Regions from separate parts of the Homo sapiens genome. Here all the other regions are linked to region 1. Evidence: promoter capture Hi-C in 16 types of primary human blood cells and fetal thymus (Javierre and others, 2016). All regions are on one chromosome and are shown on one strand. Each heading gives the region's core, a stretch centred on a gene start or on the middle of the fragment in contact. The rest is flanking DNA. Distances are from core to core; before and after follow the strand shown. Region 1 holds the start of TPD52L3 (TPD52 like 3). Region 2 has its middle 26 kb from the start of RANBP6. Region 3 overlaps GLDC (glycine decarboxylase). Region 4 holds the start of LOC124902116 (a long non-coding RNA gene).

Region 1 (2,726 bases), core at 123-2,622:
AATGTAACAATTAGTGCACTACCACTATTTTCCCCTCTTTTTCTGAGTCTCAGAGAAGATGAAGTTTTCTTGATCATCTTTTTAAAATAAAAGTTGTAGGCCAGGTGAAGCTTTCAAGGTGACTTTGAGACTGAGGGAAGGAAGGAAATGGGGAAGGGAAAACAAACAAACAAACCAAAAAAACACTACAGATTACTTCATACCTCTTTCAAGCTTAAACAGAACTCTACTTTGGCTTTCTAATAAGCTAGTTTTCCAAAAGAGAGTTTGGGCTTTGGCCTAAGACCCCTCTGGAGCCACTGACTTGCCCATTAGATACAGTCTCAGGAAAGCTAATATAATGGCACATTTCGTCTACAAACTTAAGTGAAAAATAACCAGGTACAAAACTTTGGGTTCTCTATCTTAAAAGCAGCAAATATCTGTGTTCTTTTCTCAAAACTGGATTCTGTCAATTTCCTGAATTAACCACTTTACCATTGTGGTTTGCTTGCTTGTTTTTGTTGGGCAGAGTTGCAAATGTAATAAGGGAAGGGGGTCCTTGCACTGGTTTAGTACCAGGCAAGGTTACCAAGGGGGCTCATTCTGGTTCCAGAAAGTGGAGATGGTCATCCTCACTCTCCAGAACTGGGAGTGGCTCATTCCCACTCCCCGGAATCTGGAGTGGGTCTTCCCCACACCCCAAAACTGAGAGCAGATCAACCCCACCCTCCGCAGAAGAAAGACAGTCAGGGCCAAGCTCTTTTGCCCCCTGAGACTTTGGACTTGATTGTCCCCATCAGACCTTCAAAAGATCTGAATGTGGCCGACTTCTTCACGCCTCCAAGCTTCCTGCAGATGAGAGTGCCCATGGTGGACAGAGCAGCTGATGTCTTCTGTTTCACATAGGTGTTGGAGACCTGAACATCAAGCCAGCTCTTGGACAGATTCTGTCTCAGCCCTACCAAGGCGGTGAGGCCTAACTTCCTCTTGAGTTCCCCACAGCGTCTCTCTTTGGCTGCTAGTACGTGGCGTAGGGTTACAATTTCAGCCTCCAATTTAGTGAGTTTGGTTTTGAGCTCTCTTTGCTCGGGCTCTGTCAGATCCTCCAGTTCAGAAGTCGAGTGGGATTCATATGTGCCCACAGAGGTCTCTGTCCTGGCATGTGGCATGGACTGGGAAAGAAGATCTTCGTTAAGAGAGTCCAGGTCCAATTCTTGGTAGAAAGAGTCGAATTATTGGGCTGCAGAGAAATAATCTTGGCCAGCAGAGTCGAAATCTAGGCCTGCAGGCTCAGACTCTTGGCAGGTGGAGTCAGATTTCAGGCGGGAGGGATCCATGGCCCAGCTGGTACAATGGACACCTTGACAGTTGAGTTGACGACCTGGCCTGTGAAGTAGACACGCTAGCTCGTGGTGTTCACTTCCGGGTGGTGGGGGTGGGGAGCCGGGCTGGTCAGGGTTGCGGAGGTGGGACTTCCCGCCCAAACCGCGAGGCTGTAGAATCAGTGCTCAGCTGAGGCGCAACCCACACTGGCGGCATTTTGGCATTGCGAGGACCTCCTGAGGTAGGCAGTGCAGAGATTATTGTCGAAAAGAGAGGAATTTCTCCTGACATGGTAAATGACAAGCCCTGGCCTTCAAACCAAAGCGTCAGGCAACTGTTTTCCACCACACCAGCTCCAACACTTGAAAATCATTTAAACATCATTGTGCTAGTATGAATTTTCAGTTTTGCAGTTGCATTTTCTTTATTCCGCCCTACCTCCACTCACATTTCTGGAAGCATGTCTGCCTACATTCAAGGTTACCTGTTGTGGGAGGTAGTCTGCACAGTAAAGTAAAACTAGTTAAATAGGATCTATCAGAGTGTGGATCCACTCTCCCCTGCCAACCTGCCACCCCAACCTCCCCCCAACCGTAATTCTGCCGAGAGTAAACTTATGCAATGGAAAAATCAGGACGTTAATCCAGTGAGGTCTTGTGGTCGAGCTTCACTTAGCTCATTCTATGGCTGCCTATTCTCAGAGAATATTCTTGAGCAAGTCTTAGACTCTAGTGATTTTGTTGGATATTCTTGTAATTCTTGCGAGCATGATCTTGTGGAACATAATTTGATCCTCAGCAAATTTCAGCAGTTTGCCCTACTCATGCCTATGTGGCTACAATGAAGCATCCAGCTGTGCATTCAAACCAACTTCAGCCCTCCTTTGAGTTTATGTTCTATAACCCTTTCACATAATTTAGTAGTGTTTATTATTGCCTTGTCCTGAGTGGTGTGTTTCCCTAAGTTAAAAAGTGAGAATTGTTCTTGTAAACATGAAGGCTGATGGAGGATTTGGCTATGTGTTTAAAGGCCTGAAAAGGGCAGCAAGGACTCCCTAAAAACCAATTTGTTCCAGAGGGTAGACTTTTCCTCTATTGCCTGTAGAAACACTAGTGGTTTCAGGAACACTCCCAGACTCTGAATCAGAACTCCTCTTTCAAACCTGAGACTAAAGGGTAAAGAAATCCCTGAATTATGCTACATAATATAGAACACACATTGTCTCTTCAAAGTTGAGACTCCAAATCACCAAATCTGAACTTGCACTTGATTTTACTTCTCTGTATTATTTCAACCACCAACCTTGATGCCTATTTTCTTTATAAGCTTCCTCATCCTTCAGTGTATACTATGAAATCTTTTATTAAGCCTTGATTCCTTTTGACAGAGAATGGTTTTTTTTCTCATAGCAAAACTGAGCT
Region 2 (2,726 bases), core at 81-2,580, 290 kb after region 1:
CATAAAAGTCACAGGGCCTATAAAATAATAACACAATGAACTATACCAGAAATACTAGAAACCAAAGTATCTAGGTAACAATCAACATGATGACTGGAACAGTACCTCACATGTCATTATTAACATTGAATTCAAATGTTCTAAATGCTCCACTTAAAAGATACAGATTGGCAGAATGGATTTTAAAAAATCACAAACCAAATATCTGCTGTCTTCAAGAGACTCACCTAATGCATAGGATTCATACAGATTCGAGGTAAAGGGGTGAAAAAAGATATTCCTTGCAAATGGAAACCAAAAGCAAGCAGGAGTAGCTATTAGTGTATAATGACTGCAGAAGGTTATTATACAATAATAATATAATCAATCCAACAAAAATGTGTTACAGTCCTAAATATATATGCACCTAACTCTTGAGCTCCCAGATTCATAAAACAATTACTATTAGACCTAAGAAAAGAGTGCAACAGCAATACAATAATAGCAGGGGACTTCAACACTCCACTGACAGCACTGGATAGATCATTGAGGCAGAAAATCAAAAATAAACACTGGAATTAAAGTTCAGTCTAAAACAAATGGGCCTAACAGATATTTATGGAACATTCTACACAGGAACTGCAGAATATACATTCTTTTCATCAGCACATGGAACATTCTCCAAGATAGGTCATATGATAGGCCACAAAACAATAAACTTTTAAAAATTGAAATTATATCAGGTATCTTCTCAGACCACAGTGGAATAAAACTAGAGATCAACTCCAAAAGGAACCCTCAAAACTATACAAATACATGGAAATTAAACAACCTTCTCCTGAATGATTTCTGGGTGAACAATTAAATCAAGATGGGAATTTTAAAATTCTTCAAATGAATGACAGTAGTGACATGAGTTATCAAAACCTCTGGGATAGAGCAGAAGCAGTGCTGAGAGGAAAGTTTATGGTGCCAAATGCCTACATCAAAAAGCCCGAAAGATCACAAATTGACAACCTCACATCACACCTCAAGGAGCTAGAGCAACAAGAAAAAAACAAACCCAAAGCTAGCAGAAGAAAATAAAAAAAATAAAGATCAAAGCAGAACTAAATGAAGTGGAAACAAAAAATACGAAAGATCAATGAAACAAAAAGTTATTATTTGAAAAGATAAACAAAATTGATAGATCACTAGTTAACCAAGAAGAGAGAAAACTCAAATAAGGTCAACTAGAAATGAAAATGGAGACATTACAACTGACACCACAGAAATCCAAATGATCATTCAAGAAGACCATGCACACCTCTATGCACACAAAGCAGAAAATCTAGAGGAAATGGTTAAATTCCTGGAATCATACAACTCTTCTATCTTGAATTAGGAAGAAATAAAAATCCCTAACAGAGCAATAACAAGCAGTAAGATTGAATCAGCAATAGAAAAAAAATGCCAACAACAACAAAAACTCCAGGGCCAGATGGATTCACAGCCAAATTCAAGCAGACATTCAAAGAAGAATTCGGGCTGGGTATGGTGGCTCATGCCTGTAATCCCAGCATTTTGGGAGGCCGAGGTAGATGGATCACCTGAGGTCAGGGGTTCAAGACCAGCCTGGCCAACAGGGTGAAGCCCTGTCTCCACTAAAAATACAAAAATTAGCCAGGTGCTGTGGTGCACCCCTGTAATCCCAGCTACTTGGGAGGCTGAGGCACTTGAGTGCCTGGGTTCAAGGCACTTGAACCCAGGAGGCGGAGGTTGCGGTGAGCTGAGATCATGCCATTGCACTCCAGCCTGGGTGACAGAGTGAAACTCTCTCTCAAAAAAGAAAAAAAAGAAGAAGGAGGAGGAGGAGAAGGAGGAGGAGGGGGAGGAGAAGAAGGAGGATGAGGAAGGGGAAGAAGAAGGAAAAAGAAGGAAGGAGAAAGAGGAAGGAGGAGGAAGGAGAAAGAGGAATGAGGAGGAAGGAAAAGAGGAAGAAGGAAGGAGAAGAAGAAGAAAGAAGAAGGAGGAAGGAAAAGAAGGAGGAAGGAGAAGATGAAGAAGTAAGGAGGAGGAGGAGGAAGGAGGAGGAAGAGGAGGAGGAGGAGGAGGAGGAGGAGAAGAGGAAGAAGAATTGGTACCAACCCTACTGAAACTATTCCAAATGATTATGGAAGAAGGAATCCTCCCTAATTCATTCTATGATGCCAATATCACCTGATACCAAAGCCAGGTAAGGACATAATGAAAAAAGAAAACTAAAGACCAATATGCCTGATAAACAGATGCAAACATTGTCAACACAATAAAATACTAGCAAACCAAATACAACAGCACATCAAAAAGAAAATTCACCATGTTCTAGTGGGTTTCATACCAAGGATGCAGGGATGATTCAACATATGCAAGTCAATAAATGTGATTCACCACATAAACAGAATTTAAAACAAGAATGATATTATTCTCTCAATAAATGCAGAGAAAGCATTTGATAAAACCCAGCATCCTTTATGATTAAAAACCCGCAACAAACTAGGCATAGAAGGAACATATCTCAAAACAGTAAAAGCCATTATGACAAACCCACAGCCAACAACATATGAATGGGGACAAGTTGAAAACATTCCCGCTAAGAATTAGAACAGGACAAGAATACCCACTTTCACCACTTCTATTCAACATGGTACTGAAAGTGGTAGTCAGACTAATCAGGCAAGAGAAAGAAACAAAGGGCACACCAGCTGGAAAAGAGGAAGTCAAACTAT
Region 3 (2,726 bases), core at 80-2,579, 270 kb before region 1:
GTTTATCCATTCATCAATTGGTAAACATTTGGGGTGTTTCAAATAAGCCTGCTGTGAACACTTCTGTGTAAATTTTTGTATGGATGTAATGTTTTCAGTTCTTTTGGTTATATTCCTAGCAGTGAAATTGCTGGGTCATATAACTCTACATTTAACATTTTGAGGAACTTCCAGACATTTTTCAAAGTGGCTGCATTATTTTACTTTCCTACCAGCAGCATATGAATATTCTAATTTCTCCGTATTTTCACCAATGCTTGTTACTTCCTATCCTTTGGTTATAGCCATCCTATTGGATGTCAAGTGATAATCTCACTGTGGTTTTGTTTTGTATTTCCCTAATAACTAATGATTTTGAGCATTCATTAGCTTTTGAGGCTTTTAAGTACCTTAATTGTATTATTGTTATTTTATTTATTTATTTTAGAGATGGGGTCTTGTTATGTTCTTCTTGCTGGTCTTTAACTCCTGGGCTAAAGCAATCCTCCCACCTTAGCCTCCCAAAGTCTTGGGATTACAGGCGTGAGCCACTGATTCAAGCCCTTTGTATTTTTAAGTTTGTTCAATTTGTGAAAGAAATTGTCATTTTCTTGGTCTCTATTTTAATTTTTTTGGTTCTTCTTTTGATATTCTAGTGCCCTTTGAAGTTTTTAAAAAGTGGTTTTATACTTCTCATCAATTTGTTGTTCAGCCGTGTGATATAGCCTCCTGATTATGGAAGGAATCATCTGTAGATTAAAAAGGGACATGAACCAACCTCTACAATATTGTGGTGGAGGCTGCCAGGGCATTCTGTGAATGTCAGGCCTGGGTTTCTGTTTCCAGCAACACAGCCATGAGCATTTGGGCACAGTGTGTCACAGATTCTTTACCTCAGCCTCGCCTTTTCCACAGCTGTAAAGTGCTGTGGAGTTTCTGTGTTTATTTCTGATTGTTGTAAGGAGTCCATAAGAGTGTTTACACTTTGTCTAGGACTTTTAGTACAAGAATGCCTACTTCCATGTTTTCTGATGTCTCTTTCTCCTCATTTACTTCCTTGTTTGCTGACTTCACCTTTGGAAACTGTTTCTTATTTTGCATTGGCTCCATAGAGACTTCCTCTAGTAGTCTAGCAGAAAAAAAGATGTACCTAACAAAATGGACCCAGTATTGAACATCAACTGTATTTTGCAGAGACAGGGTTTTGTATTGTCAACCGGGCTGGAGTCCAGTGGCGCAATCATAGGTCACTGTAACCTCGAAATCCTGGGTTCAAGTGATCCATCTCGGCTTCTGGAGTCACTGGGACTACAGTTGCACACCACCCCGCTCCCAGCTGAAGTGCGCATTGCCGTTTTTGCCAGTCCTTTGCCACAGATTCTCCATTCAACTCTTGGTTGGCAGAAGTTCAGCCTCTAGTGTTTTATTTAAGTTCTTAGGAGAATTTTATTCCTGAAGTTCTTGAATGTTTGAAAATTGCTTGTTTCTTTTTATTCTTGAAGAATTGCCTGGTTGAGTGTAAAATTCTCAGATCTCACTTTTTCTCCCTGAGGTCTTTATTGCTTCACTGTCTTCCAACATTAAACATTGCTTCTCAATGTCTGATGGTAGTGTGATCTTTGCCCTTAAGGGTGACATGATTTTGTTGCATGGAAGAAGCCCTTCGTAATGGTCAAATGTGAAGGTTTAGTATAGTAACAACTCCAGGGTGTCTTGGATGATGGTTCCTTTCAGGTAGTCAGGCAGGTTATATATTAATTGTCCCCAACTATCAAAGAATGTAGGAAATCTGATCATTTTGTTTTGTCGCTGTCTTCAGTTTTGACATCCCAAGTCAAGTAATTACACCCTCCCACTAATTGTCCTCCATCACGTGATTCTTTAAATGTTCTTATCTTTTAGGCCCTCTTGGCGAATATGGCTGCCATGTTTGCAATCTACCATGGTTCCCATGGGCTGGAGCATATTGCTAGGAGGGTACATAATGCCACTTTGATTTTGTCAGAAGGTGAGTTGGTAATCTGTCTAAAACATTTGGGCATAATAAAATTGATAAATTTGAGTAAAATTGAAAATATTGCATGTCCAATACTATATGCAAAATTAAAAGTCAAGTGAGAAACGAGGAAAAATACTTTCAACATCCATGATTATTTTGTTGTTTTGCTTTCTTTCTTTCTCTTTCTTTTTCTTTCTTTCTTTCTTTCTTTCTTTCTTTTATTTCCTTTTTCTTGCTTTCTTTCTTTTTTTCTTGCTTGCTTGCTTTCTTGCTTGCTTGCTTTCTTGCTTTCTTGTTTGCTTGCTTGCTTGCTTGCTTGCTTCCTTGCTTAATGGAGTCTTGCTCTGTCTCCCAGGCTGGAGTGCAGTGGCACGATCTCAGCTCACTGTAACCTCCACTTCCCGGATTCATGTGATTGTCCTGCCTCAGCCTCTCAGGTAACTGGGATTAAGGTACACGCCACCATGTCTGGCTAATTTTTGTATTTTTGGTAGAGACAGGGCTTTGCCATGTTTTCCAGGCTGGTCTCGAATTCCTGACCTCAAGAAATCCGTCCACTTTGGCCTCTCAAAGTGCTGGGATTACAGGCGTGAGCCACCATGCCTGGCTTAGACTGAGTGTTAATATTTTTTTCTCTTTTACTCCTGGCAAGCTGTGATATTTTTAATATGTAGAACTCTTACTTTCCTACCGGCCCCAAACATAAGAAGGATGAACACCCTAATAGAAAAATAGGCAAAAGACATTA
Region 4 (2,726 bases), core at 113-2,612, 260 kb after region 1:
AGAGAGCAAGCTTCACTACACAAACATATTTCAAGTTTTTCTTTGACACAGAAAGTTACATTGCTTGAGTCCGAAGTCAGTGTGAGAACTACCCATCTTTAGAGTGGTAGTTCCCAGCTAGAGGAGATTCTGTCCCCCACGGGAGGATATTGGCAATGTCTAGAGGCATTTTTGGTTGTCACAATCGCAGGTGGTGAGTAATATACTGATATCCATTAGGCAGAAGCCATGGATGCAGTTAAACATCCTACAATGCCCAGTACAGCTCTCCACATTAAAGAATTATCCAGCCCCAATGTCAATAGTGCTGAGACTAAGAAACCCTGCTTTAGAGGGAGAAACTGAAAAGTTAGGTGGCAAATGGCATGGATACAGGAAAAGATGAAGAATTTAGGCCTTTAATTCAGTCTACTGCAGATCTTAAATATGGATTCTTCTGTTAGAATTCTTCATTGAAATCTTGTAAATAATTAGCACTTAAAGATGATGATAATATGGAACTTTTAACCTAATCTTAACAGAAGTAAAACTAAAAGTATATTAACCTGGCCCTCTCAAAGCCCATCAGAACTTTGATTTTCTGATATTTTTCTCCATGCCTGAGCTCCCACATATCATGCACAAAGAGGAAGACTGTAGGTCCTGGGCACATCCAAGTGCAACAGTTGTTTGCGCTTGTATAATTGCAGCAGCAAAAGCATGTGTCATTGGAGAATGTTCACATTATCACTTCTAAAGCAGTTCCAAAAAAAGAAAACGTCAGAAAATATTCTCAATAAGTCAATCCCCATAACATTGCCCAATCTCAAAATCAATCGCTGTTAAGTAATAAGAGAGCAGACAGTCATGAGTCTCCCTGTGGACTGGGTGTCAGGCTAGAAGTGGTCGTTGTTCGCTATTTTGAAGGTTAAGAACAGTTCAGGGCCGGGCATGGTTGCTCATACCTATGATCCTAGCACTTTGGGAGGCTGAGGCAGGTGGATCACTTGAGCTCAGGAGTTCGAGAGCAGCCTGGGCAGCATGGTGAAACCCCATCCCTACAAAAAAAACACAAAATTTAGCTGGGTGTGGTGGCACGGGCCTGTAATCCCAGTTACTCGGGAGGCTGAGGCAGGAGAACGGCTTCAGCCCAGGAGGTGGAAGTTGCAGTGAGCCGTGATTGTGCCACTGCACTCCAGCCTGGGCAACAGAGACTCTGTCTCCAAAACAACAACAGCAAAAAAAAACAGTTCAGGGAAACACCCATGTAGGGAAAGGGCGGTCAAGTCCTTGATATGTGGTTTTGGCCATAAATGGTATTTCTAGTGGCTAAGATTTTATATGAGCCTGGACAACATAACAAGACCCCCCCAACTCTACAAAAATAAAAATTAAAAAATTAGCGCACACATGTAGTCCTAGCTCTTGGGAGGCTGAGGTGGGAGGATCACTTGAGCCCAGCAGGCTGAGGCTGCATTATTATGCTATGATCACATCACTGCACTCCAACCTGGGTAACAGAGCAAGAACTTGTCTCAAAAAAAAAAAAAAAAAAAAAAAAAGGACCATTTTGATGCCTTGCCTTTGAAGATTACCTTAGCAATTTCATCTCCCTGAAAAACAAAAACAGATCAGAAACAAAAAGGAAAAGGAACAAAGCTATCTCATAATATTACAAACCATTGTTGTGAAGCCACAGCATGTTCTGCTGACACCCATGTCATTCAGTTAGCACCACTTCCTTATAGGAAAGAGAAAGTGAATGTAAGACATGTGGTGCAAGGTTAAGGCTATAGATTTAAAGCAGAAGTCAGGATATTAATGAGTGAAAAATTCAGAATATACTAATACATGTAAGGTGGGATTTGGCTGATATGGGCCTTTACTGACTGTATTTGCCTTTCAGGAGTATATTGTTAGCCTGCAAACAACAGAATCCTTTCTAGCTAGTCTAAGAAAAAAATAAGGTGGAGAGATTCATTAAACAATAACTGATAGCTCACAGATTCTCTGGGAGGATCAGAGGCCAGACTCTGAGGCCACATAGCCAAACCCAGTGCCCAGACCACACTTTGGGTAAGGCGGGGGTGCGGGTGCTTTTGGGGGAATGTCACTGTCATTGTCATTAAACATCTATAATGCTCAGGATAAAGTACCAGAAGATCACTCCCGCTGTCTGTGACTATCTCGTCACACTGCCCTTGAAGAAATCCTGGTCTCATGTGGATACATATGATTCATAGAAAATAGGTCACATGATTGCACTATAACTACACAGGAATCTGAGCATGTGTAAGTTTTCTGGCTTCTACATTGAGAAGGTAGTACACACAATGTAGAAAATACAAAAATGAAGGCGAATCTTTGATGTTGTGTGGCCACTGAAGGAGAATATCCACTATAGGAAGAAAGAAGGAAAGTAAATAGTAACCAGGGTTCCGTACCCTGAACTGGCAGACATGGTTAAGCCTTCAGCTTAGTAGGACTGCAACACAGGCTGCTGCAGATCTGGAAGATGAGATGCTGCAGGATTCTTGTTGACCTCACTAAACTTCTTGACTCTCCGTTTCCTTGTCAAGACAGCTGGGCACTCTTCAGGATCTGTGGATACTTCAGGGGTTCACAATCGCAGTCTAGTCTTTAAGAAGGTAATAGTTTCTTTGAAATTATTTATTTTGTTTCTGTAAAATGACTGTCCTAATGTTTGAAATTTATGTTTTTAGCTAAAAGCTTTGGTCTCCTGATAA

The links. Contacts are between HindIII fragments. The CHiCAGO score rates a contact against its expected background, and 5 or more counts as called.
Region 2: a contact is called between a fragment that was not itself captured here and the fragment with the promoter of TPD52L3 in region 1, in 1 of 17 cell types (endothelial precursors). The highest score is 5.0, in endothelial precursors.
Region 3: a contact is called between a fragment that was not itself captured here and the fragment with the promoter of TPD52L3 in region 1, in 1 of 17 cell types (endothelial precursors). The highest score is 6.0, in endothelial precursors.
Region 4: a contact is called between a fragment that was not itself captured here and the fragment with the promoter of TPD52L3 in region 1, in 1 of 17 cell types (endothelial precursors). The highest score is 10.4, in endothelial precursors.

The regions. Positions count from the first base shown.
Region 1 is chr9:6,327,021-6,329,746 of GRCh38, reverse strand. TPD52L3 (TPD52 like 3) reads right to left here and starts at 1,372. Exons shown (of 2, transcript NM_001001874.3): 1 at 785-1,372. The coding sequence starts at 1,151. LOC107987046 (a long non-coding RNA gene) reads left to right here and starts at 1,479. Exons shown (of 3, transcript XR_001746614.2): 1 at 1,479-1,546. The HindIII fragment of the contact is 1,804 bases long and covers 830-2,633 here.
Region 2 is chr9:6,040,229-6,042,954 of GRCh38, reverse strand. No RefSeq gene overlaps it. Among named protein-coding and RNA genes, the nearest start is that of RANBP6, 26 kb to the right of the region's middle. The HindIII fragment of the contact is 4,400 bases long and covers 1-2,726 here.
Region 3 is chr9:6,594,275-6,597,000 of GRCh38, reverse strand. It overlaps GLDC (glycine decarboxylase), which reads left to right. Exons shown (of 25, transcript NM_000170.3): 9 at 1,882-1,987. Among named protein-coding and RNA genes, the nearest start is that of GLDC, 50 kb to the left of the region's middle. The HindIII fragment of the contact is 8,591 bases long and covers 1-2,726 here.
Region 4 is chr9:6,068,055-6,070,780 of GRCh38, reverse strand. It overlaps LOC124902116 (a long non-coding RNA gene), which reads left to right and starts at 2,489. Exons shown (of 2, transcript XR_007061410.1): 1 at 2,489-2,627. RefSeq lists enhancers at 1,522-1,581, 1,592-1,641. The HindIII fragment of the contact is 2,699 bases long and covers 13-2,711 here.